Linked DNA regions of Homo sapiens: regions 2, 3, 4 and 5 are each linked to region 1. The links are contacts of gene promoters, found by promoter capture Hi-C in blood cells and fetal thymus (Javierre and others, 2016). All regions are on one chromosome and are shown on one strand. The core of a region is centred on a gene start or on the middle of the fragment in contact, and the rest is flanking DNA. Distances in the headings are between cores, read along the strand shown. Region 1 holds the start of BTF3L4 (basic transcription factor 3 like 4). Region 2 overlaps ZYG11B (zyg-11 family member B, cell cycle regulator). Region 3 has its middle 3.2 kb from the start of COA7. Region 4 overlaps SHISAL2A (shisa like 2A). Region 5 has its middle 2.4 kb from the start of ECHDC2.

Evidence for each region. The method cuts DNA at HindIII sites, captures the fragments that hold promoters and counts their contacts. A CHiCAGO score of 5 or more calls a contact.
Region 2: a fragment that was not itself captured here is called in contact with the fragment with the promoter of BTF3L4 in region 1 in 9 of 17 cell types (non-activated CD4 T cells, fetal thymus, naive CD4 T cells and 6 more); the score reaches 11.7 in non-activated CD4 T cells.
Region 3: a contact is called between a fragment that was not itself captured here and the fragment with the promoter of BTF3L4 in region 1, in 6 of 17 cell types (fetal thymus, non-activated CD4 T cells, total CD8 T cells and 3 more). The highest score is 15.5, in fetal thymus.
Region 4: a fragment that was not itself captured here is called in contact with the fragment with the promoter of BTF3L4 in region 1 in 1 of 17 cell types (naive CD4 T cells); the score reaches 5.5 in naive CD4 T cells.
Region 5: a contact is called between a fragment that was not itself captured here and the fragment with the promoter of BTF3L4 in region 1, in 1 of 17 cell types (naive CD4 T cells). The highest score is 5.9, in naive CD4 T cells.

Annotation. Positions count from the first base shown.
Region 1 is chr1:52,054,908-52,057,782 of GRCh38, forward strand. It overlaps BTF3L4 (basic transcription factor 3 like 4), which reads left to right and starts at 1,388. Exons shown (of 6, transcript NM_152265.5): 1 at 1,388-1,472. TXNDC12 (thioredoxin domain containing 12) reads right to left here and starts at 284. Exons shown (of 7, transcript NM_015913.4): 1 at 93-284. The coding sequence starts at 189. RefSeq lists silencers at 308-712, 1,573-1,812 and enhancers at 878-1,591, 1,592-2,303. The HindIII fragment of the contact is 3,174 bases long and covers 968-2,875 here.
Region 2 is chr1:52,727,148-52,729,847 of GRCh38, forward strand. The region is part of intron 1 of ZYG11B (zyg-11 family member B, cell cycle regulator); the gene reads left to right. Among named protein-coding and RNA genes, the nearest start is that of ZYG11B, 2.0 kb to the left of the region's middle. The HindIII fragment of the contact is 1,993 bases long and covers 421-2,413 here.
Region 3 is chr1:52,700,177-52,702,876 of GRCh38, forward strand. No RefSeq gene overlaps it. Among named protein-coding and RNA genes, the nearest start is that of COA7, 3.2 kb to the left of the region's middle. The HindIII fragment of the contact is 3,859 bases long and covers 1-2,700 here.
Region 4 is chr1:52,636,898-52,639,597 of GRCh38, forward strand. All of the region lies in intron 1 of SHISAL2A (shisa like 2A), which reads left to right. Among named protein-coding and RNA genes, the nearest start is that of SHISAL2A, 5.1 kb to the left of the region's middle. RefSeq lists an enhancer at 470-629. The HindIII fragment of the contact is 552 bases long and covers 1,079-1,630 here.
Region 5 is chr1:52,922,685-52,925,557 of GRCh38, forward strand. It overlaps the pseudogene LOC100652967. Among named protein-coding and RNA genes, the nearest start is that of ECHDC2, 2.4 kb to the left of the region's middle. The HindIII fragment of the contact is 2,507 bases long and covers 83-2,589 here.

The sequences.
Region 1 (2,875 bases), core at 138-2,637:
AATGGGAGGGGAACGGTGCTAGGGCAAGAAGAGATTATACTGGGATCAGTATAGTAAAGATCAGTAAAGAGAAGATAAGAACGCGGTCTGACCCTTTCCAAGCCCATTATGTCCATCAGAAGAGATGACGAGGAGCAGGAAACTGAAGCCCAGCAAACAGGTGGCCCCGAGACGAGGCCGCGTCTCCATGGCAGTAGGTGCGCGGGGCCACGGGGCTGAGCGGACGCAGGGCCGGAGTCCCAGCAGACGGTCCACACAGTTCGCCGAGCGCCGCTCAGCACAACACCTCTACTTCCCAGATTTTTTTTTTTCAAACTCTGAAGGAAGTGATGTTAGACGGATGTGGGTGGTGCCTCCGGGGTCCGGTTTGGGATGGAGTGAGCTTAAAGGTGCAGATCACGTAGAAGGGTACGAGAGCTGTTCTCGAGCGCGAGTTGCTTTTCGTGGATTCTGGGTGTCCAGGTCCCGGGACGGAGCGGGAAAATGTAGGCCAAGATAGTAGGGGCGGGGGAGAGGTTCGGGAGAACCGTTGCTCCTCGCGTCCGCCACCCAGTCCAGCCCCTCCCCCCAAGAACCGCTGCACTTCCTAGTCAAAAGCAAATTATTGATTCGTGAGGTCAGTCGCTCCCAACAGTGGGCGGATTGCCCACTGGCCTCGGATTCTCCTTACCCCTCCACAAATCAAGACTGGACAACTGGATTTCATTGTTAGGTTCCTGCGAGGGTCTCTGAGGAGACCTGGCAAGCCTGTTCTGCGGTGCGTGGGCTCGTGCCGTGCAGACATGCACTTTCCCGCTGGAGAAGCTCTGTACCTTATTTTTCCTTGCAACCGCAAATCTTCTACTCAGGGATGATGCAACCAACTGATGCAAGCTCCAAGAAAACCAAACTTGGGACCTCTTATTGCAAAACTGACTTAGGTGGACTTAGGACACCAGGATATAAGTCACTGCAGGCTAAAGTGTAAAGCTTCTGGTTATTTTTCTTGTAGCTTGAGGATTTCTTCCCAATTTTTCCCCTTCGCTGTATAACAAACAGGTGAAAATGTCCGGTCTTTTTCTTCCTGGTACTAGTTGAGTCCTAAAGTCCGTACTTAATGCATAGCGAAAAAGCGACCTAACAAAAGTACACACCCAAATAAAAACATACCGACCACCCTTTTATTAGGTTCCCTAAAATTGTAGGCAGGGACACAACAGAACGCTCGGGAGACTGCAAGCCCCAGGATGCCGCGCGGCCACCTGCACCTGCCGCCACTAGCACTAAGAGGGATGCGCAAAGCAGGCGGGGCGTTGGAGTTCAGATGTTCGCTCCCGGGATAGGCTGCCCCGGAGAGGGAGAGGCGGGGTCGGCTGTATCACGTGGATCTGCTCCCGCCGCCGCCGCCGCCGCCGTCGTCTTTCTCTGTCTCGGCTGAGGCAGCCATCTTTCTCTTGCCGCGTGCTGGTGTTGGAGGACCCTCCCTGCTTCAGGTGAGACCCCCGGCGGTCCCGCCACTTCACGGCCATAGGCCGCTGCGCACGGTCTCCCCCCGCCCTCCCCTTCCGACACCCGCCAACCGCTCAGGCTGCCACTTCCGCCGTGGTGCGGCGAGCGGGGGCGGAGGCGGCTGGCTTGGCCTGTCGGTTACCGGCGGCGCAGCTGGGGGTCGGCACCTGTGGGAAGGTCCCCAGCACCACCGCCCCCTGTGGGAGCGAGCGGGCCCGCCCTGTTGCCGCCCAGACCCTGTCCCAGGAGGCAGGTGGACGCCCCTCCTCTGTTCCATTACTCCTTGCTCACAACAGCAGTGTTGTGTGCTTTGAGCTTTATACAGGCTCTCTGTTGTCATCTCATTTGATGCTCCCAGTCTACAGATAGGGAAGCTGAGGTTACCACTTCCCGCCCTTGAGTCCAGGGAACCGAACTCAGTTACAGCACTCTTCACCTTGTAATGGCAGTGTTTGTTTACAAGTCGGCGTCCCTTGCCCATCTTTATAACCCCCCTCCCACTGCCTGCTGACCGACAGGCTCAGTGTTGCACAGCTAGTGAATGGCGGTTTCAACTTCCGTTCCCACATTCTTGCAGTTTACCATAGTTGTCCCCTCGGGAGTGGTAACAATAGTTACCAGTAACTGTGTATCTTCTGTGAACCATTCCCTGTGGTTGATAATGTTTTAACCCTCAAAACAACCCTGTGAAGTACGTGGTGTTATACCTTTCCAAATGCAGGAGGAATACAAGTTCAGAGAAGAAAAATACCTTTCCCAACTGGTAGAACCTTGGTCTTTCTGATTCCAAAGCCTGTGCTTGTCTTAGAGAAACCCTACATAATAAAAAGTCAGGACTCAAGGTTGCAATTATTTTTATCTCTGTGTAAACATGATGTATGTGAAAGTGCCTACCACAATGCTTCTAACTTAGGCACTTAATAAATATAAACCTGTTTACACCCTTTCTTGAGTCCTTGAGAACAGTGCTAAAAGATCCTGGAATCCCCAAGGAAGAACTCATTAATCATGTGGCTTTAGGAAGTTACTTCTCCCTTTTGGGCCTAGGAAGGGACTTCTCCCTTCTGGGCCCTTATTTCCTAATCTATTAAGATGGGAGGGAGGGAACTGTTTCGTTTGTAATTTATACTTTGCTGGTGCTAGCAGATGTTGAGATGACATCACAGATAGGAATGATGGGTGCAATAAAGTAGAGGTTGATTGAGAATAGAGAATTAAACCAGGTGATCTTGGAGGTCTACTCCAGATTCTGAGCTTGACATCGCATAGACTGAGTCCAGTCCTCTTTCCTACTTGAATTCCACACACCACAACTTGCCAAGAAACAAAAGACTACTCTTGTTCCTCCCCTACTGCCTTGAGCTCTCAGTCTCCCTAAAATCATTTT
Region 2 (2,700 bases), core at 167-2,666, 670 kb after region 1:
CCCTTCGTCCTCTTCCATCCACGTTTCCTCTTCCCTTATCGGATGTCCTCGCTCGGTTCGCCGTCGCAGCTGTCCCCATTTCCTTCTACGGGCTTCAGGGGTCTAAGCAGGAACAATTTGAGGACTGTTGCTTCCCGGGAGCTGTAGGGCGGGCAGATAGGGATTTATAGGTTTGCTTCTTCCTTTTCGTTTTTGGAGGCATTGAAGAGATCCTGGAAGCCTATTCACCTAGTGTCATTGCAAAATCGAAGTGGTGGTGTGTTACAGAGCAGTGAAGTGAGGGCCAGCATGCATACTGTGACCTCAGGAGAGATCTAGTCTTTTGACAGAAATAGCTAAAAAATGTTTTGAATTTTTTTTATTTTGAGCATCTTTTAATGTGGAGGTGCAGTTGGAGAAGTTTAAAAATACTTATTTACAAGCTTGGCTATTATTACTAAAAACAAATGATTTGTTTTCATTTGGAGGCAGAGACCAAGGGCATTTGAGGACTGACAATCAGGTTGGCAGGTTGTGACAGTCTCTTTAAACCTTCTAAAGAGTTCATTTGTTTTGCCCTGTCTGCCTTTAGTTGGGAGAACCTTATATTTGCAAATTTTCTTTCTGTCTGAAAATAGGTTGAGGCTTCAGTTGGTTTTTTCATTGAGTTGGGTTATAAGTGGTTTGCTGTACATTTATTGAAAACATTGCTCCATCATATGCAACAAGCTAAATTTTGGTCTCTGGGAGGAATAAGGCAAAACTAAGTCCTGATAATTATGTTCCCCTAGGAGGTTAGTCAGTTTCTTTTTTTCCCTCCAGCAGTTTTTTAGAAAAGTAATATACTATAAAATTATTTAATCTATGAATTTTCCCTAACTCACTCCTGCATTTTTAGTCTGTCATTTTCCTGTGTTTGTCTCCTTCACTTTCACACACTGTTGTTGTATGCTAACCTGTTTCTCCCTGTGGAATGTAAGTTCTAGGTAGCAACCGTTCCTTACTTATTATTCCAAGTGCCCAGGCCAGCTAGGTGCTTGAATGATTCACTTTATGGTCTCATTTCCCACCTGACTAATATAAACTTAAACTGAAATTTGAGGTAACTAGTGGACTACACAGAAAGAGTGAGTTTGAGAATTGTTGTTTGGAGACGATCTTGCTCTGTGGCCCAGGCTGGAATGCAGTGGCACAATCATGGCTCTTTGCAACCTTGAACTCCTGAGGTCAAGTGATCTTCCCACCTCAGCCTCACAAGTAGCTGGTACCACAGGCACGGACTACCGTGCCCCGCTAATTTGTAAAACTTTTTGTAGAAATGGAGTCTTGCTGTGTTGCCCAGTCTGGTCTTGACCTCCTGGATTCAAGCCATCCTCCCACCTTGGCCTCCCAAAGTGCTAGAATTACAGGCATGAGCCATCACGCCTGGGCAGAGAATCTTAATTTTGATGCAAAAATGATATTGAGTGAGGTATGATGATATACTTTTCAGAATAAAGAGCTATCCTACCTAAGACATTACACTGCTAGATTTTTGAAAGTGTGGGCCCTTCCATTGAGAATGAATGTATGAGAGGGAGGAGTTATGAACTCCCCTTTGAGGTATTTAGGATCTAAAAGTGTCCTTTGAGCTGGGCCTGAAAGTTGAATAGGATTTATATAGATCATTTTGGGAAGGGGAAGAATGCCTCATTGTGAATGTGAGTAGCAAGTAGAAAGGATCCCCTCACAGGGATTTTTTTTTTTTTAAGAAAGAAAGTAGGAAGGAATTAGGATGCATTGTAGGAAGTAGTATTACCCTTATATAGCATGGAAGGATGCAAGAATGGAGATGTGTAGTAGGAAATGAGGCTAGCAAGATACTGTCTTAGCCCATTCAATCTACTGTAACAAAATACCATAAACTAGGTAGCTTGTCAGCAACAGAAATTTATTTCTCAGAGTTTGGAAGGCTGGGAAGTCCAAAATCAGTTCCCCAGTGGATTCAGTGTCTCGTGAGGGCTCTTCCTAAGTCACCTTTTCACTGTTTTCACACATGGTGGCAGGGGCCAGGCAGCTCTCTGGAGTCTCTTTTATAAGGGCACTAATCCCATTCATGTGGGCACTAACTGGTGATCTAATCACCTCCCAAAGGCCCCACCTCCTCATACCATTACCTTGGGGGTTAGGATTCCAACATATGAATTTAGGGAGACAGAATTCAGACCACAGCAGACATATTAGGCATGATTATGTTTTAAACTTTGCATCTAATTAACTTGATTTTTCCTTGCTTGTTAAAACATATACACACAGAGTAACAGTGTATGTATGGGAGAGGTGAGGAGAAGGCAGAATATTAGCTTATTTTGAGCTAGGAATTATCAGTAGAGGCCACTTTCTCGTGCAATATTTTTGTAGATAATAAATACAGTTGAATGAATGATTATTATAAAGCTTTGTATTTTATATTTGTTAAATGTTAATTAGGTTGTGTTTGAATAGTTGAGATGTTTAAGATGTCAGGAGTTCGAGACCAGCCTGGCCAACATGGCAAAGCCTCGTCTCTACTAAAAATACAAAAATTAGCTGGGTGTGGTGGCACATGCCTGTAATCCCAGCTACTCGGGAGGCTGAGGTAGGAGAATCACTTGAACCCAGGAGGTGGAGGTTGCAGTGAACTGAGGGCAGGGCCTGAGAGGTGGCAGTTCTTTTTTTTTTGAGGCAGGGTCTTGCTCTGTC
Region 3 (2,700 bases), core at 96-2,595, 650 kb after region 1:
CCATAATACATCTTTCATAGGATAACAGAAGATTGCCTTTTCTCCCCCAAGCCTTTGAGTAAAATTGACATTCCAGGCAATATACCACATTTACCTGTGGTTTCTTATACCCTGATCACCTTAGGGGACTCCTCAGTACACATGGCCCAGGATGGGAATCCTTGAACTTTGGTTTGAGGTCATCTTCTTTAGGATGGCCTTCAAGACCCTGTGCAATCTGATTCTAGCCTTATTTTCTGCCTCTCTTCCCCCACATCCCACCAACCTTCTGTTCTCTGAATAGATCCCAAGTTTGTGTCCCTGTTTACCTCTGCTCTTGATGCCTGGACCACCCTTTTTGACACAAATCGGAAATACTCTCCTATGTAAAGTCTTCCCAGACACAACAATTACACACATTCAAATTAGATTTAGATGCTCCCATTTTGGTGTTCCACACCACTTGGTTTATTCTGGTATAGTGTAGTAGGAAAGAAAGAACTGGCTTTGGAGTGGGGACAGATCTTAGTTCAGAATCCATGTTCCATGTTTATTAAATTGTAACCTTAAACCAATCATGTTTGTGAGTCTGAATCCTCTTCTGTAAATGCAGATCCATTTGTAATGGCTGTCAGAAGGACTACAAGTTCATGTATGCAATGTGCTTGGCAGAGCGCCTGGCTCAAAGTCATTCCTGTTCCAGGAATGTTTCTTGTCATGCCAATAATGGCATGAAAGTCTGTGTTCCCCACCAGACTGTGACCTCTGTGTCCTGTATGCTGGTCACAGGGCCAAGAATAGAATAGGGCTTGATGATAGAATAGAGCAGGGTGATGTCGATTACTAAAATCTGGGAATGTTTCCCTTTATTTTCTGAGTTGAACTGCATTGAAATGAGATCACCTGAGCGGTAGAGGGCACAAGAGAGTTAGTTGGTGATGAGAGGCTCAACCAAGTAAGAGGTCACTTTTTTTTGTTTTGCTCTTTCATCCAGGCTAGAGTGCAGTGGCGTGATTTTGGCTCACCGCAACCTCCGCCTTACGGTTTCAAGCAATTCTCCTGCCTCAGCCTCCTGAATAGCTGGGATTACAGGCGCCCACCACAATGCCCGCCTAATTTTTGTATTTTTAGTAGAGATGGGGTTTCACCATATCGGCCAGGCTGGTCTCGAACTCCTGACCTCGTGATCCGTTTGAACTAACTGTTGCCTCTGCCCTAGAGTGCTTTTCCCCTGTATTTTTTTTTTTTTTTTGGCTTGCCTTCTTAAGTTCTCTGCTTCAATTTGACATCGTCCATGTGGTCTTAGCTCATTCTTGTTATAATAACAGTGTCTTGATTGTGCCCAGCAATATTAGGTGCCCAAGTATTGTTGACTGAATTAAGAAGAGGGATTATCATTCCAAATAATTTGGTTTTCATTAATGGAACTTAGAATATCACTGACTCTTGCTCTTTTGACCCAGGTTTTTCTTAAAGCTATAAGAAACATTAAATGAAGGTCTAATTGACATACAGGAAACTGCACATAACTTTAAAGTAACAATTATGAGTTTCTACATATGTATACACCTGTAAACCATTATCACAATCAAGATAATGAGCATATTCATCACCTCAAAATTTCCTCATGTGACTTTGTACTTCATTCCCTCCCCAGCAACCATTAATCTGCTTTCTGTCACTGAAGATGGGTTGCATTTTGTAGGATATTATCTAAATAGAATGATACAGTAAGTACTGTTTCTTTTTGTATAGTTTCTTCGATTCAGCATAATTATTTTGAGATTCATCCATGTTACCACACGTATTAATAGTTCATTCTTTTTCTTAGTGAATGACATTTCATGATGTAGATATATCACAATTTGTTTATCCATTTGGGTTTCCAGTTTTTGGCTTACAAATAAAGCTGCTGTGAATATTTGTGTACGTGTCTTTGTATGGGCATTCATTTCCATTTTTGGGGTTCATACCTAGGAGTGGAATGGCTAGATCATATGGTAGGTATATATCTAACTTTAAGAAACACCCAAACTGTTTTCTAAAGTGATTCTACCATTACATTCTTACCAGCAGTGTTTGACAGTTCTAGTTGCCCTACATCCTCACCATAATTTGATGTGTGGTCAGTCTTTTAAAATTTTAGCCATTATAGTGAATATAACAGTATCTTATCATAGGTTTAGTTTGTATTTTTTTGAGTGACCAATAATGTTGGCATCTTTTCATGTGCTTATCTGCCATCTGTGTATCTTTGATGACATGTTTGTTAAAATCTTTCGCCCCCTTTTTATTGGATTGTTTTTTATTATTGCATTCTAAGAGTTATTTATATATTCAAGTCCGTTATCAGAAGTTTTGCATATATTTTCTCCCAGTTTGGCCTGCCTTTTTTGTTTTTATAACAGTGTCTTTCAAAACCAAAAGTTTTTCATTTTAATGGTGTGTCTAGTTTATTGATTTTTTTCCTCTTGTTAATAGTTTGTGCTTTTTCTTTCGTATTCAAGAAGTCTTTGCCAAACCCAAAGTCACTAAGATTTTATCCTATATTTTCTTGTAGAAATTTTATGGTTTAAATCTTATATTTAGAAAGCCTATGATCCATTTCAGATTAATTTTTGTATGAGGTATGAGATAACAGTTGAGGTTCACTTTATTGCATGTGGGTTTATAATTACTCTAGCACCATTTGTTAGAAAGATTATCCATTCTCGGCCTCCC
Region 4 (2,700 bases), core at 105-2,604, 580 kb after region 1:
ACTCACTGACCCTCTAGTGTCTTCTGGGCACTGTGCTGGCCCCTGGGGACACAGAGGTGAGTAATTCTCTCAGCACCCAGCCAGGACCCTTTCCCTCTTCCACTAACCCCTTCCCTACACAGCTCTTGTGTCTTGTGGTCCCTTCCGTTGCCCTGGAAACTCTGACGTGGCATGCTTTAGTGGCTCAGACAATGCTTTCTTCGGGGGTTGGATGGGCTGATCTCTGGGGTAACATCCCATGTCAGTGTGTTCCCATTCTGTGACCCCAAGGTGGCTAAAGGCTCTAGGGTGACTCTTCCTGGACTCAGACATAATGTGATTCATAAATACCACAGACAATTGCAAAGTGCAGGAGAGGAACTGAAAGTCCTCAGGATGTCTAGGGCATCAACGTGCTCTGAACCTTGAAATAACTCTTCCGGCATGCTCCTAACAGAGCCCGGATATTGCAGGGTGGAGACCTTGTTTTGCTGTAAATTCCGTTTGGCCCTTTTCATGAAAGTCAGTCCTTAAAAACTTCAAAATCTCCAGGTAAGCACTGTTTCCTGGGAGAGACAGTGCTCAAGGAGAATTGCTATCTTTAAAATTGTGCCTCAGGAAGTGAAGACACCCTGTGGAGAAGCAGTTGGTGCTGTCACACCGTCTGGTCCACTTGCCAAACACCCTCCTCCATCACTAGTTCTGTTTTTTTACGAGGGTGTGAGCCAGAAGACAGCAGCCTTGCCGGAAGGCAGAGTTTGTGGTCAGACCGTGTCTACAGCACCTCATTTCATCCTTCCCACCACCTGGTGAGATAGAAACCTTTATAAAGGAAGAAAATGAAGGTCAGAGTGGTAAAGTGATTTTTCAGCTTAAATGTGGCAGAACCAGGATTTGAACTTAGAACTACCTGACTCCAAAGCCCTTGGTTGTTAGATTGTCCCTCCAATTCTTTCTTAGGAGTCACAGTGGGTTTTTATCTTTCAGAGTCAGAACAGTAAAATCCTCGAAGACTCGAGGCTCTCTAATTCAATTTCCTACCCAGGGTAGGAATCTCTAACTTCACTGAAAGATATAACTCATTCGTGTGTCCTGCACAAGCTTCTCCCATGACAGGGACTCATCCCTGCTTGAGGCAGTACATTCACCATGGAACAACTCGGATCATTTGAAGTTCATCTCATGCCAAGCACAGATTTTCCTTCTTTGGAGCCTGCCCTGTTGTTCCCAACTCTGTCCTTGGAGTTTAGTTCCTCTGTCACCAGGACAGACCAGCAGAGACAGTGCCTGCCCCCTGACTGACCTCCGATCTGGAATGTATCACCCCAGAGTCAGGGAAGAGGATGGGCAAGAAAGCTGGAGAAAGAATGGTAGACAGGGACAAACAAAACTCTCCCCCTCACTCCTCAAAGGGCCTCTCTTAGAGGCCCCTTTCTATCCAGGAACCCAGAGTTGTCCCACACACGGGTCCCAAGCAAAGCACAATTCTCCTAGATAACAGCCCTACGAACAGTAAGCATATCTCAAATGAGAAAATAATGTTTAATTAAAGTAACTAAAGAACTAAAAAGCCCTACATACTCAATGTAAAAAATGTGAAAAGGACAAGAGAAATGAAAAGAGAAAGAAGTCATGAGTAATCCAGTGTCTAAGCTTGGATTCACCAGGAGACTCTGAGATGAGGATTTGATGGCAAGTAGTTTATGTGGAAAGTGATCCCAAAAATCACTGGTAGAGGATAAGAAAGTGAGACAGGGAGAGAAAGAAGCCAACAATGGGTGTATTACCAAGCAAATTACACCAGAGGTAACTGGAGCTTAAACTCTGCCAGCCAGTGTAGAATGTACTCCTCAGGGTTATCCCACCTGACGGCCAGGAAGCTGGATATTTAGCTAACAATTTCTGTCAGTCATCGGTCATGGGCTGGTGGGGTAAGGAAGGTATTGATTATCCTGCACTATTGACTTGCCAGTGTGTCCACAGAGCCTGTTCTGGGCCCAAGAAACCCCTCAGACAAAGAGGTAACAGCTGTTTGCAATAGAAACTTTGGCCAGGATAGCCAAGGCGGGCAGATTGCTTGAGCCTAAGAGTTGGAGACAACCTTGGGCAACATGGTGAAACCCAGTCTGTAAAAAGAAATATTAAAATTAGCTCGGTGTGGTGGCACATGCCTGTAGTCCCAGCTACTCAACAGGCTGAGGCAGGAGGATCACTTGAGCCCGGAAGGTTGAGGTTGCAGTGAGCCATGATGGTGCCACTGTACTCCAGCCTGGGTGGTAGAGTGAGATCCTGTCTCAGAAAAGAAAAAAAAAAAGAAGGAAACTTTGGCTAGAGTATCAGAATATTCCACAATGATAAGATCCAAGGGGCCCCAGACAGGACATCCACATCCTGAACTATACCCAGAGACAGCCTGTTAGTTGGTGTATCTCCATCAACCTTGCATGTGTACATGTGTATAGTTATGCATATATGTATACTTATTTAGTTAAATTGGGGTTATGCCATGTAATTAGTAGTGTGTCCTGCTCTTTTCAATTAATATTATCAATAAGTTCATAAAGATTTATCCATTATCTTAGATATTAAAATCTAGGCTGGGCGTGGTAGCTTACGCCTGTAATCCCAGCACTTTAGGAGGCCGAGGCGGGCGGATCACGAGGTCAGGAGATCGAGACCATCCTGGCTAACACGGTGAAACCCTGTCTCTATTAAAATTAC
Region 5 (2,873 bases), core at 86-2,585, 870 kb after region 1:
GCTGTACATTGCAGCATTGTTTATAATAGCAAAAGACTGGAAGCACATGGTGCTGTCATGTGCTTCTGGTGAGGCCTCAGGAAGCTTACAATCATGGCTGAAGGTGACAGGGATCCAGCATGTCACATGGCGAGAATAGGAACAAGAAAATTAGGTGGGGAGGTCCCAGTTTATCGCCAAGGGGATGGTGCTAAACCATTCACAAGGGATCTGTCCCCATGATCCAGTCACCTCCCAACAGGGCCCACCTCCAACATTGGGAATCATATTTCAACGTGAGATTTGGAGGGATCCAACACCCAAACTATATCACAGTCTCAATATCCATCAATAGAGGGTTGGTTAAATAAATTATGGGGCTGTGTGTGGTGGCTCACCCTATTATTCCAACACTTTGGAAGGCCAAGGCAGGTAGGTCCCTGGAAGCCAGGAGTTTGAAACCAGCCTGGGAAATATAGCAAGCCCCTATCTCTACTTAAAAAAAAAAAAAAGGTACATCAATAATCTGAATACTATGCAGCTATAACAAAACACAGGAAACTGTTTATGCATTGATATGAAACAATCTTCAAAATCTATTGGTATATGAAACAAGTCAAAATGCAGAATAGTGTGTAAAGAAAGCTAAAATTTGGCCGGGTCTGGTGGCTCATGCTCATGAACCTAGCACTTTGGGAGGCCGAGACAGGAGGATTGCTTGAGGCCAGGAGTTCAAGACCAACCTAGCCAACATAGCAAAACCCCACCTCTATTGAAAGAAATAATAAAGAAAACAAAAATTTGTGTTAACAAGGGGGATAAGAGTATGCATGTGTATATTTGATTGTATTTACATAAAACATCTTTGGAAGGATAGGGAAGAAGAACCGAGAGGCTGGGAATAAGGGTAAGAGAGACAAGTTTTACGGTTTGACCTGTTATACGTTTTTGGACACAGGATGTTGTTGTTGCCCAGATTGGAGTGCAGTGGCAGTATCTTGGCTCACTGCAGCTTCTGCCTCCCGGGCTCAGGTGATCCTTCCACCTCACCCTCCTGAGTAGCTGGGACCACAGGTACATGCCACAACATTGGCTAATTTTTGTATTTCTTGTAGAGACGGGGTTTTGCCATGTTGCCAAGGTTGGTCTCGAACTCCTGAGCTCAGGCGATTTGTCCACCTTGGCCTTCCAAAGTGCTGGGATTACAGGTGTGAACCACCATGCCTGGCCCCTTTTATACTTTTTGAATCTTGATTTTTGTTTTAAGTATAACTTACTCAAAATAAATAATGAAAATGAAAACAAAGCACAATAACAAAAATTAAAAACATGCCTTAGCAAAAATAAAACTAATATATACACAAAATCAAAACATACAAACTAGCCAGGCCCGGTGGCTCATGCCTGTAATCCCAGCACTTTAGGAGGCTGAGGTGGGTGGGTCACCTGAGGTCAGGAGTTCAAGACCAGCCTGGCCAACATGGTGAAACCCTGTCTCTACTAAAAATACAAAAATTAGCCAGGCGTGGTTGTGGGCAGCTGTAATCCCAGCTACTCAGGAGGCTGAGGTGCAAGAATCGCTTGAACCCAGGAGGTGGAGGTTGTAGTGAGCTGAGATCACACCACTGCACTCCAACCTGGGCAACAGAGTGAGATTCTGTCTTAAAAAAAAAAAAGAAGCAAAAACAAAACATACAAACTATAATTGGGTATAAGATTAAAAGAAAAACCTTCCCTCCTCCATATTCCATGCATTTATTGTATTCTATTTTATTGAGACAGGGTCTCACTCTGTTGCCCACATTGGAGTACAGTGGTGCAGTCAGTTCACTACAACCTCAGACTCCTGGGCTCAGGGGATCCTCCCGTCTCAGCCTTCCGAGTAGCTGGGACTACAGGAGTGGGCCACCACACTTGGCTCATTGTTAAATTTTTTGTAGAGACAGAGGTCTCCCTATGTTGCCAGGCTGGTCTCAAACACCTGGCCTCAAGTGATCCTCCCACCTCAGCCTCCCAAAGTGCTGGGATTACAGGTGTGAGCCCCCATGCCTGGCATCCACCCATTTAAAAAGATTTTTCTTGTTTTTTCTTCTTTTTTTTTAGAGATAGGGAGCTATGTTGCCCAGGTTGGTCTTGAATTCTTGGGCTCAATCAATCCTCCCATTTTGGCCTCCCAAAGTGCTGGGATTACAGGCATGAGCCACTGTGCCTCGCTGCTTTTTGTCTTTTTGTATTAACAGAAAAGGTCTCACTATGCTGTCCAGGCTGGAGTGCAGTGGCTATTCACAGGCATAATCGTAGCTCACTGCAGCCTTGAACTCCTGGACTCAAGCAGCCTTTCTGCCTCAGCTCCTCAAGTAGATGGGATTACAGTCTCGTACCACCACACCCAGCTTAAAATGATATTTATTGTATTTTATCTGGCATTTCTGGGTGTTTTTTTTTGGTATACTTATTCATGCCACAAAGTAAGTGGTACTTATATAAGTGTACAGTGATTTTCCAGGTTCCTTTCTAACATAGCTTGCTTAAATTCACAGGTCGACTAATGTTTCATTTCATGTGCATGCTAAGTGAAGCTGGTTAGTGATGACCATAAGCAGGTGGAGAAGCTTTCAATATTTTACTTATTTTATCAGTACTCCTGATTTTATAAATGATGAGGCTCATTAACCCCATTCCTACTCAAATCTCCTGATAAACTTGGTTATAATAGGGCTTCATGGGGATCCAAACATTTTTAATAATGTTTTGAAGCATCTTGGTGTGGGACAAACAGCTCAGGCTACCCCAGAGCCCCACATCCAATGACTTAGAAAAGTCTGTGTTTTATAGTGGGAAAAGTTTGGATTATTTAGTCCTTCACATTGGAAAGGGAAGTGTTTTTTCTCAGT